2 separate regions of the Homo sapiens genome follow, and region 2 is linked to region 1. Evidence: promoter capture Hi-C in 16 types of primary human blood cells and fetal thymus (Javierre and others, 2016). All regions are on one chromosome and are shown on one strand. Each heading gives the region's core, a stretch centred on a gene start or on the middle of the fragment in contact. The rest is flanking DNA. Distances are from core to core; before and after follow the strand shown. Region 1 holds the start of SLC25A47 (solute carrier family 25 member 47). Region 2 overlaps YY1 (YY1 transcription factor).

Region 1 (6,284 bases), core at 2,535-5,034:
ATTGCACCTAACAAGAATAATAATGATTGTTTAAAGTCATCTAATGCCACTGGGTGCGGTGGCTCATTCCTGTAATTCCAGCACTTTGGGAGGCTGAGATGGGTGGGATCACTTGAGGTCAGGAGTTTGAGAGCAGCCTAGCCAACATGGTGAAACCCCATCTCTACCAAAAATACAACAAAATTAGCCGGGCATGGTGGCACGTGCCTGTAATCCCAGCTACTCAGGAGGCAACTCACTGCAACATCCACCTCCTTGGTTCAAGGAGAATTGCTTGAACCCAGGAGATGGAGGTTGCAGTGAGCCAAGATTGCACCACTGTACTCCAGCCTGAGCGACAGAGCGAGACTCCATCTAAAACAATAAAAATTAAAAATAAAAAAGCAAATAAAGTGATCTAATGCCATTGGCTATCTCCAGCTGAGGACACCCAGGAGGGCAGGGCCTCCAGGTGCACACCTTCAGGGAGGACAAGGTGCTCGGTGGAAAGGATGGATGGGGTGATGGGGGCTGGTGAGTGACATCCTTTTGAGGTCCCTTTGATCATTAGGGCCCAGCACAGTGTGGGTGCTGAGGGTGTGGACTGACTGACGGCCTGTCTCAGATTCTGCAACACTGTCTCACCCCTTTCTTGTGGGGCCCCTGCCATCCTTCCATCTGTCTTTCTGTCCATGCGTTCATCGCTCTACCCCTTCATCCATCCACTCGTCCCTCCATCTATCACCCACTCATCCATCCGTCTGTCCAGCCCTCCTCCCATCCATCCATTTGTCCACCTGCCCATCTCTCCCTCCTCCGTTTGTCTTCCATCCATCCATCTGTCTGCCCAGCCCTCCTCCATCCGTCCCTCCATCCCTCTGTCCATCCATCCATCCTTCCATCTGTTCACTGACTCATTTTCTCACATACTTATTTACGTGGTCTCCCCAGGGTGCCCACCTATTCTGGGTGCCATGGGTGTGGAGACAAACCCAGCACCACCCTGCCTGCCTGAAGCCCACAGCTGAGTGGGGAAATGTTTAGACCTGCACGAAGCAGCCTAAATGGTGGGGTGGCCTGTTTTCTATTTCTGCCTCAGAGAAGAGGGTCAAGTTAGGGCATGTTTGTTCAGGAGACAAAGGGCAGGTAAAACTTGGCTGCGATGACTGAGAACATGCTTGTCTCAAATGTCACCTTCTGGGGCCTCCCTAACACCTCCTGCAAGTCTCCCTCTCCCCGACACCTTATTTCTCTCCTGGCACTTGCCGCCATTGCGGGTACTCTGTATTTTGGCTATTCATCTGTTGGCTGGCTGTCCTCCTCCCTGAACATAATTATGGTCCACCAGGGCAAGGGCTTTTTTTTTTTGGGACACAGAGTCTCACTCTGTCTCCCAGGCTGGAGTGCAGTGGCCCAATCTCGGCTCACTGCAACCTCAGCCTCCCGGGTTCAAGCAATTCTCCTGCCTCAGCCTCCCAAGTAGCTGAGACTACAGGTGTCCACCACCACGCCTGGCTAATTTTTGTATTTTTAGTAGAGACGGGGTTTCACCATGTTGGCCAGGCTGGTCTTGAACTCCTGACCTTGTGATCTGCCCGTCTCAGCCTCCCAAAGTGCCAGGATTATGGGCGTGAGCCACCGTGCCCAGCCCAGGGCAAGGGCTTTTATCCGTTGTGTTTACTGATGTGTCCCCGTGCCTAAAACTCGACAGGCAGCCTTGGTTTCATGAGTAGAGGGCATGGGCGGGGCGGGCTGCGGTCCACGGGATGATGACGCGGCTGAGGCCGTGCAGATGGACAGTGGTGAAGGGAGCTGAACGTGAATTTAAGAGGTTGACACACAGGACTGGGGACTCTGGATGTGGGGTGGAGAGAGAGAGGTGTCCAGGGCAATTCCTGGGCTTCTGGCTCAGGTGCTATGGGTGGGTGGCACTTGCTGCATTGGATGCTCTACAGGAAACATGGATCTGAATGGTCCCTGTTCTTTCAGTTAGACACAGTGCTTCAAACTCCCTCAGCACCCAAGGTACTGGCTTCTTGAGTGCAGCATCAGCAATCAAACCCAAGTCTCAGCTGTATTTGCCCTGCCCAGAACAGGCCAGCCACCTCCTTCCTTCCAGACTCTATGCTTCTGTTAATGCAGCATTAGCATTTAGCTGGCCACTCTCACAGGGACACGCCCGGACTTTGCCCTGCGTGGTCGCAGATATGAGGCAGGTACTCTCTTCATTTCATGGATGCAGAAGCTGAGGCACAGAGTGGTCAAGGGGCTGGCCCACGGTCTCAGCTGTGAGTGGCAGAGCTGGGCTTTAAAGGCAGGCAGCCAGCTTCTAACCAGATGCTAAGCTTCATCCCCTTGAGGGCCAGGACTAGCATTGGGACTGGCCTTGGATGGGCCACTTCCCGCCCTTTGCCCTCTGCCGTGGCAGCTGGCACTGCTCATCCTGTGTCTCCCACTTGCCTATAAATAGCCGGGCTGGCAGGGGGGCTGTCCCTCCATCAGCTCTCAGCCTGCTCAAGGCCAGCCTGCAGGTCCAGCCATTAGAGGACAGGAAAACAGGTAGACAAAGAGCCTCCTGGCCTTGCCACCTGTCCCGAGGGCTGCCCAGATGGGCTGCCTGGGCCTCATGCATCAACACCTGCCCCTCCCCTATCCTGCTGGCATTCCAGTCTGTGGGGCACTCACTTAGATTCTGTTGCTCAGCAGCTGTGTGGCCGAGGTACCTGCACAGCCTCCCTGAGCCTTGGTGTCTCACGTGGAGATCTCACAAGGATGCAGTGCAGGTCACATGGGGCATGCACTGAGTCCCCTTGAGAGCCCTCTGGGGCCTCCCCAGGCGGGCCTGGATATCCCAGAGGGTGGGTTGTATGAGAGCATCTGGGGATCACATCCAGCCCTGCCGCCCTCGTGGCCTTGGACAAGCCCCCTTTCTGGGCCTCAATGGCCCCATCTGTGAAATGGGGAGCACTAACGCTGCGCTGTCTCCCTCCTGGGGCGGTGAGGAGGATCCTAGAGCCTGAGAGTGAGGGGAGCTTGGTGAACTGTAAGGTGGGGTGCACGGGCAAGGAGGTCCCTGTTTTTACAGTGCCCAGCAGACAGAAGTAGCGTCTTAGTGGAGAGGTTTCCCCTTCAGGAGGGCCCCAGCCGCTGGTTCAGAGGCTGAATCGGCAGCCTCTGTCCCTGGTTCATGTGGGCAGGGGGACTTGGTGGAGGCAGCCTTGGCCTTCGCCTCTGGGTCCAGGGAGACACATTCCCATGGAGCAGAGAGCAGGGAACCGGGGCAGCGGGAAGGGTGAGAGCAGATGGTGGGTGCTGTTCCTGGGTTCAGGCCTGTCCTTGCCACCCCCTCCCTCCCTGCCAACTGGAGCTCCTTGAGGACAGGGACTGGCTCTCATTTGCCTGGGTGTAGCATCAGCAAAGTAAGTGTTTTTTGAGTGAGTAAGAGAGGGAGCTTTGCAGGTTTCCCAGGCAGGGGTCCTGAGCAAATCCAGGGGAGTCGGGAAAGCCCAGGGGACACAGTGAAGGCCTGGGCTTGGACCTGGAGGGCGAGAGCTGTCACAGCCCCATCTCTGGACCTTCCCAGGAGGTGTTTGGATGTGATGGGGCAGTGCCCCTGCTCTCTGGTGCCTGTCACCTCCCGTGCTCTCTCCTGTGTTTTCCTGACACCTGGGTCCCGAGGGCACTGGGACAAGGGTCCCGGGGGCAGGGAGGGAGTCCAGCTGTGTGCCGCGTGGCCTCAGCAGGCTCTGCTTCCGGTCCCCTCCCCTGCCGCAGGTATTTAAGGTCTGAGAGGGGCCAGCTGGGAGCTGTTGAGGCCACCCTGGTGGCACCAAAGCCCTCTCAGGCAGGCAGACCCAGGGCCTCCCCGCCACACCTTGTTCATGGATTTTGTCGCTGGAGCCATCGGAGGTAACAGACAGGATGGTGGGCTGTGCAGACACTGCTGCTCCTGGGGGTAGCAGGAGGAACTGAGGTCCAGGAAGGTGCTGGGCAGCAGGGTGGGCTTTGAGGAGCCCCTCACCCCCCAGGATCTGCCAGGAGCAGAGAGCAGGTTCCTGGGAGGCTAAGGCTGGGTGAGGGGTGCTGCAGGGCCTGGGGGGCTGCACTGGCCTGGGAGGCTCAGACAGGAGGCTGAGGGCAGGCTGGGGATGGGGCTGTGGTCTAGGCATGGGGGCCGCTCGGGAGGCAGAGTCAGGGAGGCTGGGAGTCCTTGGTGTGGGGAGGGGTGATTGAGTCACTGGAAGGGAAAGAAGACCCCAGGAGAGGATCGAGAGGGTGGGGAGATGGGTAGGGAAGATGGGCCTGGTCCTGCAGCAGGGACTGGAAGGGGCGGGCAGAGGACGGTAAGGGGCCTGGCGAGGTGGCTCCACCTGCCCTGCTGGGTGTGTGCACCTGGCTAGGCCTCCAGAGCCTGCTTCTCAGGCCAGACTCTGCTGGAGAAACCGTTCTCCCTCCTGGGGAAGGGCTCCTGGTGAAAGACTGATTCAGGGAGATAACCAGGCCCTGGGACACGGGCTCAGCTCCATCCCGTGGGCTGTGGGGGCTGTTCTGAGTGGGCACTCCTGCCCTTGCTGGTCTTGTGAAACATCGGTGGGTGGCGTCAGTACTTCTGGAAACAGCATGGGGGTTGGGAGAGCGGCCCAGCTCTGGCCCTGGGAGAAGGCAGAGTACCTGCCCCATTAACAGGCTTTTTCTTTTTTTTTTCCCTTGAGATGGAGTCTTGTTCTGTCGCCTAGGCTGAAATGCACTGGCGTGATCTTGGCTCACTGCAACCTCTGCCTCCTGGGTTCAAGTGATTCTCCTGCCTCAGCCGCCCAAGTAGCTGGGATTACAGACATGCACCACAATGTCTGGCTAATTTTTGGGTTTTTAGTAGAGGCAGGGTTTTACCATGTTGGTCAGGCTGGTCTCAAACTCCTGACCTCAAGCGATCCGCACGCCTCAGCCTCCCAAAGTGCTGGGATTACAGGCGTGAGCCACTGCGCCCGGCCTCCATTAGCAGCCTTTCTCAGCCCCAGCTAGGTGCCAGCCTGGGGCCAGCCGCTCCCTTCCTCAGGGAAGCTACTGGACTTGCCTGACATCACACAGCTGGAAAGGGCTCCTGAGTCTGGCATCTTTCCTCCGGAGCCATGAGGAGGCCTAGGTAAAGGGCTCTCACTCTGTGCCTGGCCCTGGGTCATGGGGTGTCAGCCCTCGGCCGTGTCCTTGGAGAACTCCAGTTCTGGAGGTGGCGGTGGCATACAACAGCAAGGCCATATGACAAGGGCTCTGCTCAACATGTTCCAGGCACAGAGGCAGCCCAGAGTACAGAGGCCAGAGAGGGCTCCAGAGAGGAGGTAGTGTCGTGGCAGGGCTTTGATGGATGAGTAGGAGCCTGGTGAGGTGTGTGAGGTGTATGGGAGGGTTAAGAAGGGTCGTTCTCTCCAAGCCACTTGGTCTTTTGCCTTACATTTATTCACTTCATTCTTTCATCCCACATATTTACTGAGTCCTGGGCTACAGTGAATAGGGTACAGTCCCCATGTGCCTATTTTCTTCCATTGGCCTTTACCACCTCCCCTCAGGGGAGAGAATGGTCCTCCCAGGGACCACCCTGTTTCCCCTCTGACTTCCCTGTGGCAGTGCTGGGGCTTGGATGTTGAGGCCTGGCACCCGAGGCCTCTCTGCAAGGTGTGGACTCCCGGCCCTCTCTCTTCCACACACGCTTGTGGTTCCAGGCAGTCCTGGCTCTTCACGAACCCCGGTGTGGGCTTCGGCTTCCCTCCTCCTGGCCTTTGCCCAGGCTGTGCCTCCCCCTCCTTCCACCCACGCAGCCAAAACACAGTTACCGCCTGGCTCACAGGCAAACCCTCCATGGGCTGACGGCTTGAGGGCAAGGTCTGCCTGGCTCAGAGACAGGGCCCAGCTAGGGTAGGATCAAACGTTCTCTCAGAGCATGACGCCCGTGGGGAGGCCGGGGCATGTCGGCATGTCTTTGGCCCAAGGCAGCGAGGACGAGGCAGTCCCGGGCCAGGACTCAGGGAAGGGGAACTTGCTTGCAAAGGGTAGAAGACACTCGGAGGCTCAATTTCCTCATCTCTAAAACGGGGGTGCCCTCAGGATTGATGAGACCTGGTGCAGACCAGAAGGGCCAAATGTGGGTCTGCCCTTGGGGGAGCCCAGTCAGCGTGCGCTCTGCTTCTGCTTCCCTGCAATGGGGTTGAACTGCTCGCCGGCCCCACTCTCCTCACCGTGGGCCTCTTCTTTCCTTGCAGGCGTCTGCGGTGTTGCTGTGGGCTACCCCCTGGACACGGTGAAGGTGCGGC
Region 2 (6,284 bases), core at 1,462-3,961, 40 kb before region 1:
TTTTGAATTTCTTATTATTTCCCCCTTTTTGGTAGTGGAGTTGAGAGGGGGAGCATACTATTTGTATAAAGAACTGTCACCCCAGAGTGACATTTATTTTCCAAGATGACCCTGAACTCATGCTGTTGGTTTCATATGGTGTTTGTGTGCTTTGCCTAGATTCAAGGCCTGAGGATTTGAGGAAAATCGGGATTTTTTTTTTCCTATTTGGTTTTCATGTAAAAGTTCTAAATGTCACTTATTTTGCTAAATAAGACCCTTTCACAGGATAGTGTGCGCAATACCTGTCCGTGTTTCCAAGCAGAGTTCAAGTTCATGTCTTCACAAGTAGATGAGAGTCACTTCCAGTCGGGGGAAGCCCGCCTGAGCAGTGTTTTGAGAGTGCGTACATTGGAGGACTGCCCCACGTCCGTTTGCACTCTGCCTTGCAAAACTTACTGTGGAGACGTGTCCCAGACTGGTCTCAGACCAGAGTTTGTGGCACAGGAAAACCTGGCCCCCTAAAAAGAAGTTTTGGAATTGGAAGCCTGATAATTTCGGGAGGCTGAGGCAGGAGAACGGCGTGAACCCGGGAGGCGGAGCTTGCAGTGAGCCGAGATCGCACCACTGCACTCCAGCCTGGGTGACAGAGCAAGACTCCGTCTCCCAAAAAAAAAAAAAAAAAAAAAAAAAAGGAAACCTGACAATTCTACCCACCTCCCCCCACCCCCGACTATAGGCAAAGAGAGTTGATCACTTCCAGGGTCTCTGACTTCTGTGACCTGGAAATCAGCCTGGCTTGGGAAATTCATGTTGTTGATCTTTAATTATTTAATTATTCTTTAATAATCCTTCTATTTTCTTGACATCTGACCCCCAGCAAGAGTAAGGATCCCAGAGGTCAAAACAGTGGTGAGAGCCAAGCTGCTCACAGACACCCACTTGATGCCACAGCCATGCCATGAGGCTTCCTCCCAGCTGCTCTGCTGGCTTGCTGAAGCCAGCTCTGAGTCACAGGGTTGCCTTGGACCCTCGGCTGTAGGGGGCACCTGTCTGGCTCCGGGCCCTTTGTCCTGGATACACTGACAGTAATGTGAGCGCAGCACTTCAGAGTTCAGGCCCAGCAGGTCCTGGCAAGTGCATTCCACCCGAACTTTTAACCCAAGCGGTGGGGAAGGAAGCCAAAACTCCAAGCTGCACTTTCTTGGGGTTCTGGCCATGCACTTCTTAGCCTTCTCTCTGACTTTACAGGACAAAAGGTACCCCACGCCTTCAGAATCATGCTTACCTGCACGGCAGCATCTGACTGGATGGCTGGCTAGGTCTCATCCACCCCAAATTACTGACCCTTGATTTATGTTGTTACTGCTCAGGTTATGCTCAGATGCCCTGGTTGCCTGAAGATGGTTTAAGTGCAGGCCCTTCAGACAAGTCACGTCAGGCAAGAGAGGGCTGGCCTCTGACCCACAAGAGGGCAGATTTGTGGCCAAGAGGCTTCCTGGCATCCACCCCCAGGCCCAAGGGATCAGTGTGGTGCCAGAGAGGATCTTTAAGCTGGGACTGTACTGAGGCTTGATGGGAAGTATGGGCAGCATGTACTTGACACGTTATCACCCAGTCCCCTTGTAAAATCTGGAATGGAGCGTTTAAGCTGAGCGTTAGCATCAGGTCAGCAGGCAAAGCAAACCTCCCACAAACTGGGTGCCGTAAGGTGGGAGGTGACACATGGAGAGCTTCGTCCTGGCCGAGCAGGCACCCAGCCCCATGTCCCCCGCCAGCATTCTGGATGTCAGAGGAGGGTGCGTGTGATGGCGTCACATTCATCTGAAGCACACTGATTGATTTTCCACAAGGTGGCAAGTTTGATCAAATTGACCGCTTTTCATGAGACACCCAGATGCTGTAAAAAAAAAAAACAGCACTGGGATGTGTTGAGGAGGGGGCAGTTTGCTGTGCTCTGTTCTGTCTGCTGCTCTCTCTGGGGGCCGCACAATGTCCGCACACATCACGGAGGGGAGAAAGGCATCAGTACCAAACGGAACAACCTCTTTTTTCTACATTGTCCATACCCGGACATGTGAGGCTCTATTATCAACAGGTGGTGAGAAAAATTATGTTTTTATTCGCTTTCTGGTAACTTCTGTAGGCCCTGGCTCAAGGACTTAGCATTTCGTCTCATGTACATCTTTTTCTTAAGTGTTCTTTGCCATTTCTGGAATTGTCCTTGGTTTTTCCTTAGCTCATAGGTCATAGATGCAGAAATATAGTATTTAAGGCATCCGCATCCAGCATCAGATGGCTTTGCATCCAGAAAAACATTGATAACTCAGTTTGAAGCACCAAGCATGTGTAATATGGCTCTATACAATATAATAAATGCATAATGTTAAGCTTTTTAATGCCTGTGGTTCTTGTTTGTTCCTCAGTCCTCTAAGCCACTTCTTTAGTGTTTCACTGCACATGAAACCAGGCCATGAGCCCTTCCTGGTCTAAGAGTTGCCTAAACTGCCCGGGGCAGTTCTTGCGGCTTGCTTTCTCACACACAGGACTGGGAACTCCCAGGATTTGGTCTCACACCAGCAAGAAATGCTTCTGTAACCTTTCAGCTCCAAGGTGGGCTCAGGAGCAAGAGGGCGTTTTAAAGAGAGCCTCACCCACTGTTCAGAAAGCACAGCCCAGTGAAATGCCCACGCAGCCGGACCTATGAGCCCATGTCAGCCCTGGAAGCTCCGGAGCTAACTGGGATGGACTCGGAAGAACTTGACCAAATACACTGAGAGCTACTTAGGATTTAGCCAAAAGCAAAATGCAGAGCAGAGCTTCCTCCCTCTGGTTGGGGCCTTGGTGTCTGATGTTCTGCAGAGCAAGGTTCAGAGTGAGGCGTGAAGTTCATTATTACTTGAATACATGTGACTTTCCCTTTTTGCTAGTGACAGAAGGGGCTGCTGACAGAATGCTACTGAGGTGGCAAGTCGCAGGCCTGTGCAAGCCCAGAACTGCTGAGTGAAGGCCCTAAGTAGGGCTGAGCTGAGCAAGACGGTGGAAAACCTGTAGATTTTACATGGGAAGGAACTAAAGCTTTGGAATTGCTTTTTTTTTTTTTTTTTTTAGATGGAGTATTGCTGTGTCTCCCAGGCTGGAGTGCAGTGGCGCGCAATCTCAGCTCACTGCAACCTCTGCCTCCCGGGTTCAAGCGGTTCTCCTGCCTCAGCTTCCTGAATAGCAGGAGGTTGTGTGTGCCACCATGCCCGGCTAATTTTGTATTTTTAGTAGAGATGGGGGTTTCACTATGTTGGCCAGGCTGGTGTTAAACTTCTGACCTCACAATCCACCCGCCTCGGCCTCCCAAAGTGCTGGGATTTCAGGCGTGAACCACCGTGCCTGGCCTGGAATTGCTTTCTTTAGAAACCCCTAGATACAGATGAAACCAGTATCTCTCCTTTATACTTGCCGGTGTCTCTGCCTGGCTATAATTTTTTATTTTATTTATTTATTTATTTTTTGGTAAGAGACAGGGTCTTGCTATCACCTAGGCCGGAGTGCAGTGGCACGACCATAGCTCACTGCTGCCTTGAATTCCTGGACTCCAGTGGTCCTCCTGCCTTGGCCTCCCGAGTAGCTACGATTACCGTGAGCCACCATGCGCAGCCCATAACATTTGTTGAGAACACATATGTACCCAGTGGCCTCCTCCAAACCACCCTTTGATGAATTAGCTAGCAATATCACCATGCTGTAAGAGAGGAACAGGCTCAGATTTATTTGCAAAGTCCAGGCAGCCAGAATTCAAAGCCCAAGCCTGCCTGGCTTCCAAGGTACTCTGCTTGCCACTGGCTCCTTAGCTTGAATTCTCCTCCAGTCCCCTTTCAAAAAAGCCCTGGCCCTTGTTTATGGAGCAGTGCATCGGCCTCCCTGGTGTGCGGCCCTTTCTGTTCTGGCGCAGTGGTGCCTCCTGGCCTTGGAAGGGTCCTCAGGGCTCCCCGACTGCCCGCCATTGTGACCGTTCCCCTCGGTCCTTGCTGACCTCCCCACACGGCCTTTCTGCTAACAGGGTCTCAGCACGTGATTTGAACTGCAGCGGTTCCCTACTTCCTACCGAAAAATCCAGTCCCGCCGACCCTCAGAGCCCAGTCCTGGCTTTATCTCATTTTTCAGCCTTTCCTAATGGATCACCTCTTGTCCTGTCCCTCCCCTCCCTCTTGGAGTTTTCGTTTCCAAAGCTTACCTCTCCACCTCCAGGGGCCCTGATTCGATCAATGCAATTATGTGCCAGGCCCTGTTTTAGGCAGGAATGGCATTGCCCTACTGGCACTGGCATGACATCTGGAGGAAGGAGGATAAGGCTGTGATAAATAGGGGCTAGGGGCCGGACGCGGTGGCTCATGCCTGTAATCCCAGCACTTCTGGAGGCCGAGGCGGGCAGATCACCTGAGGTCGGGAGTTTGAGACGAGCCTGACCAAAATGGAGAAACCTCCTCCCTACTAAAAATACAAAATTAGCCGGGCGTGGTGGCGCATGCCTCTAATCCCACCTACTCGGGAGGCTGAGGCAGGAGAATCGCTTGGACCTGGGAGGTGGAGGTTGCTGTGAGCCAAGATCGCGCCACTGCACTCTAGCCTGGCGACAGAGCGAGACTCCGTCTAAAAAAGCGGGGGGGGGCGGGGTAGCTAGGGAGGGAGAGGAGGCAAGGAGGCAGGACGGGGTCTGAGCACGCCCCTCAGGTGTTTGCATGGCTTCTTCTTGGCCTGCCACGTGCGTCTGTACCGGACCCTAGGAATATCCCGGGAGCTGGTGGCCAGCCCTAGCCCCTGCCCGCCTGGCCTTTGGCCAGCACTTAGCGCGGGCAGCCCTGCCCGCCCCCAGACCCTTCTGGGGACTTGGGCCGCGCCTTTGTCCCAGCCCTTCCCTGCCACCCTGCAGTGCTCCAGGGCCTGTCCCCCACGCTGCTCTGGCGGGCGGCCCCGGGGGCTTCTAGACCTGCGCCTGGGCCCCCACCCGCAGGGTGCGCCGCCGCCGCCGGCCGCAGGAGGGCACTGTGCCAGCGGGCCCCGGGGCTGGGCCGCGTCCGCTGTGGGGAGGGGCTGCGCGTGCGCAGCGCGGAGCGGCCCGGACCTCGCGGGGACCCGAGGCGCGGTGGGGGCTGTCCAGAATCCCTGAGTGTGGGGTCCCCGCGAGCCGCCGCCGCTTACGAGCGTCCCCCGCGCGGAGTGAGCCCAGGGCCACGGGGGCGCGGAGATTCAGAGCCCGAGAAACGCGGAAGGAGGCTGCGTGCACCCCACCTGCCCGAGGCCTCGGGCGGAGGAGACTCCCGCCGCCAGGGCCACAGGGACACGGGGCAGGGCGGTGCGGCGGCGACGCCCGAGGAGGGAGGGGCCACATACCAGGGGGCCCCAGCTAAGCAAGGCCCTGGGACGCCCCCCCTTCCCCCCGGTGGAGCAGCGCCCCCTGGAGGGCGGGGTGGGAGAGGCTGCGGTCCTGGGATTAGGGGGCGGGCCCGGGAAGCGGGGAGACAGGGCCTTGGGGTGCCGGCCCAAAGGGACGTCCTGGAGCCCTCCAAGCTGGGGATGCTTTTCCTCTCCCCACGGAGAGCTCCACCACGGGCGTGGCGGGGGCTCCTACCATCACCCTGCCTGTAGGTTCTGGAGCCACTCCGGCCGCCCCAGCCCCTCTCCAGCCCATCACCGCTTCACCCTCTGCCCCCAAGCGTGTTCTGGCCTCACAGTGTACATTCCGTCTTCCCTGGCCCGTCTCTGTATTGCCTGGCAAAACCCAACCTGGCCCTGTACTCAGCAGCCTCTGCTCTCACCCATTCATTCACTCATTCATTCAGCATGCTGACTTTGCACCCCTGGCCCTCATGGAGCTAAGGTAGAGGTTGGGGAGATAAACAAGAAACCGGCCAGTACTGTCACAACACCAAACAGAGCCCACCATGTTCCCCTGTGTCTGCTCTTTGTCCTGTGTCCTCACCATCCCCAAGGATATTCAAGCCAGATTTGAACTTACTCATTCACCCAAACTTTGTGGGACATCATTACAGCTGGCGTGGTGTTGGCTGGCCTGGCAGAGCATGGCTGGGGGGGGGGGTGTTGCTTGCAGAGGGGCGCTGGTGGGGGCGTCTGGCATTCCCCACGATCCTGGGGGAGGTCAAGTCGGAGGAGAGCAAGGCTGAGCAAGGAGCCCCTGGGGCACAGGCCCATTCCCCTCAGCCTCTGCCCTATCTCTGCTGTGCCCTGATCAAGGTGGACACTGGCCCCACCGCCTTTCCCAGTTCCCTGGGAAGTGGCCTCTGGACCCAGCAATG

What was found. Contacts are between HindIII fragments. The CHiCAGO score rates a contact against its expected background, and 5 or more counts as called.
Region 2: a contact is called between a fragment that was not itself captured here and the fragment with the promoter of SLC25A47 in region 1, in 1 of 17 cell types (monocytes). The highest score is 5.9, in monocytes.

What each region holds. Positions count from the first base shown.
Region 1 is chr14:100,319,555-100,325,838 of GRCh38, forward strand. It overlaps SLC25A47 (solute carrier family 25 member 47), which reads left to right and starts at 3,785. Exons shown (of 6, transcript NM_207117.4): 1 at 3,785-3,888; 2 at 6,234-6,277. The coding sequence starts at 3,861. The HindIII fragment of the contact is 12,472 bases long and covers 2,323-6,284 here.
Region 2 is chr14:100,280,415-100,286,698 of GRCh38, forward strand. It overlaps YY1 (YY1 transcription factor), which reads left to right. Exons shown (of 5, transcript NM_003403.5): 5 at 1-2,374. It also overlaps a transcript of SLC25A29 not described here. Among named protein-coding and RNA genes, the nearest start is that of MIR6764, 6.2 kb to the left of the region's middle. RefSeq lists silencers at 4,765-4,874, 4,905-5,664. The HindIII fragment of the contact is 687 bases long and covers 2,369-3,055 here.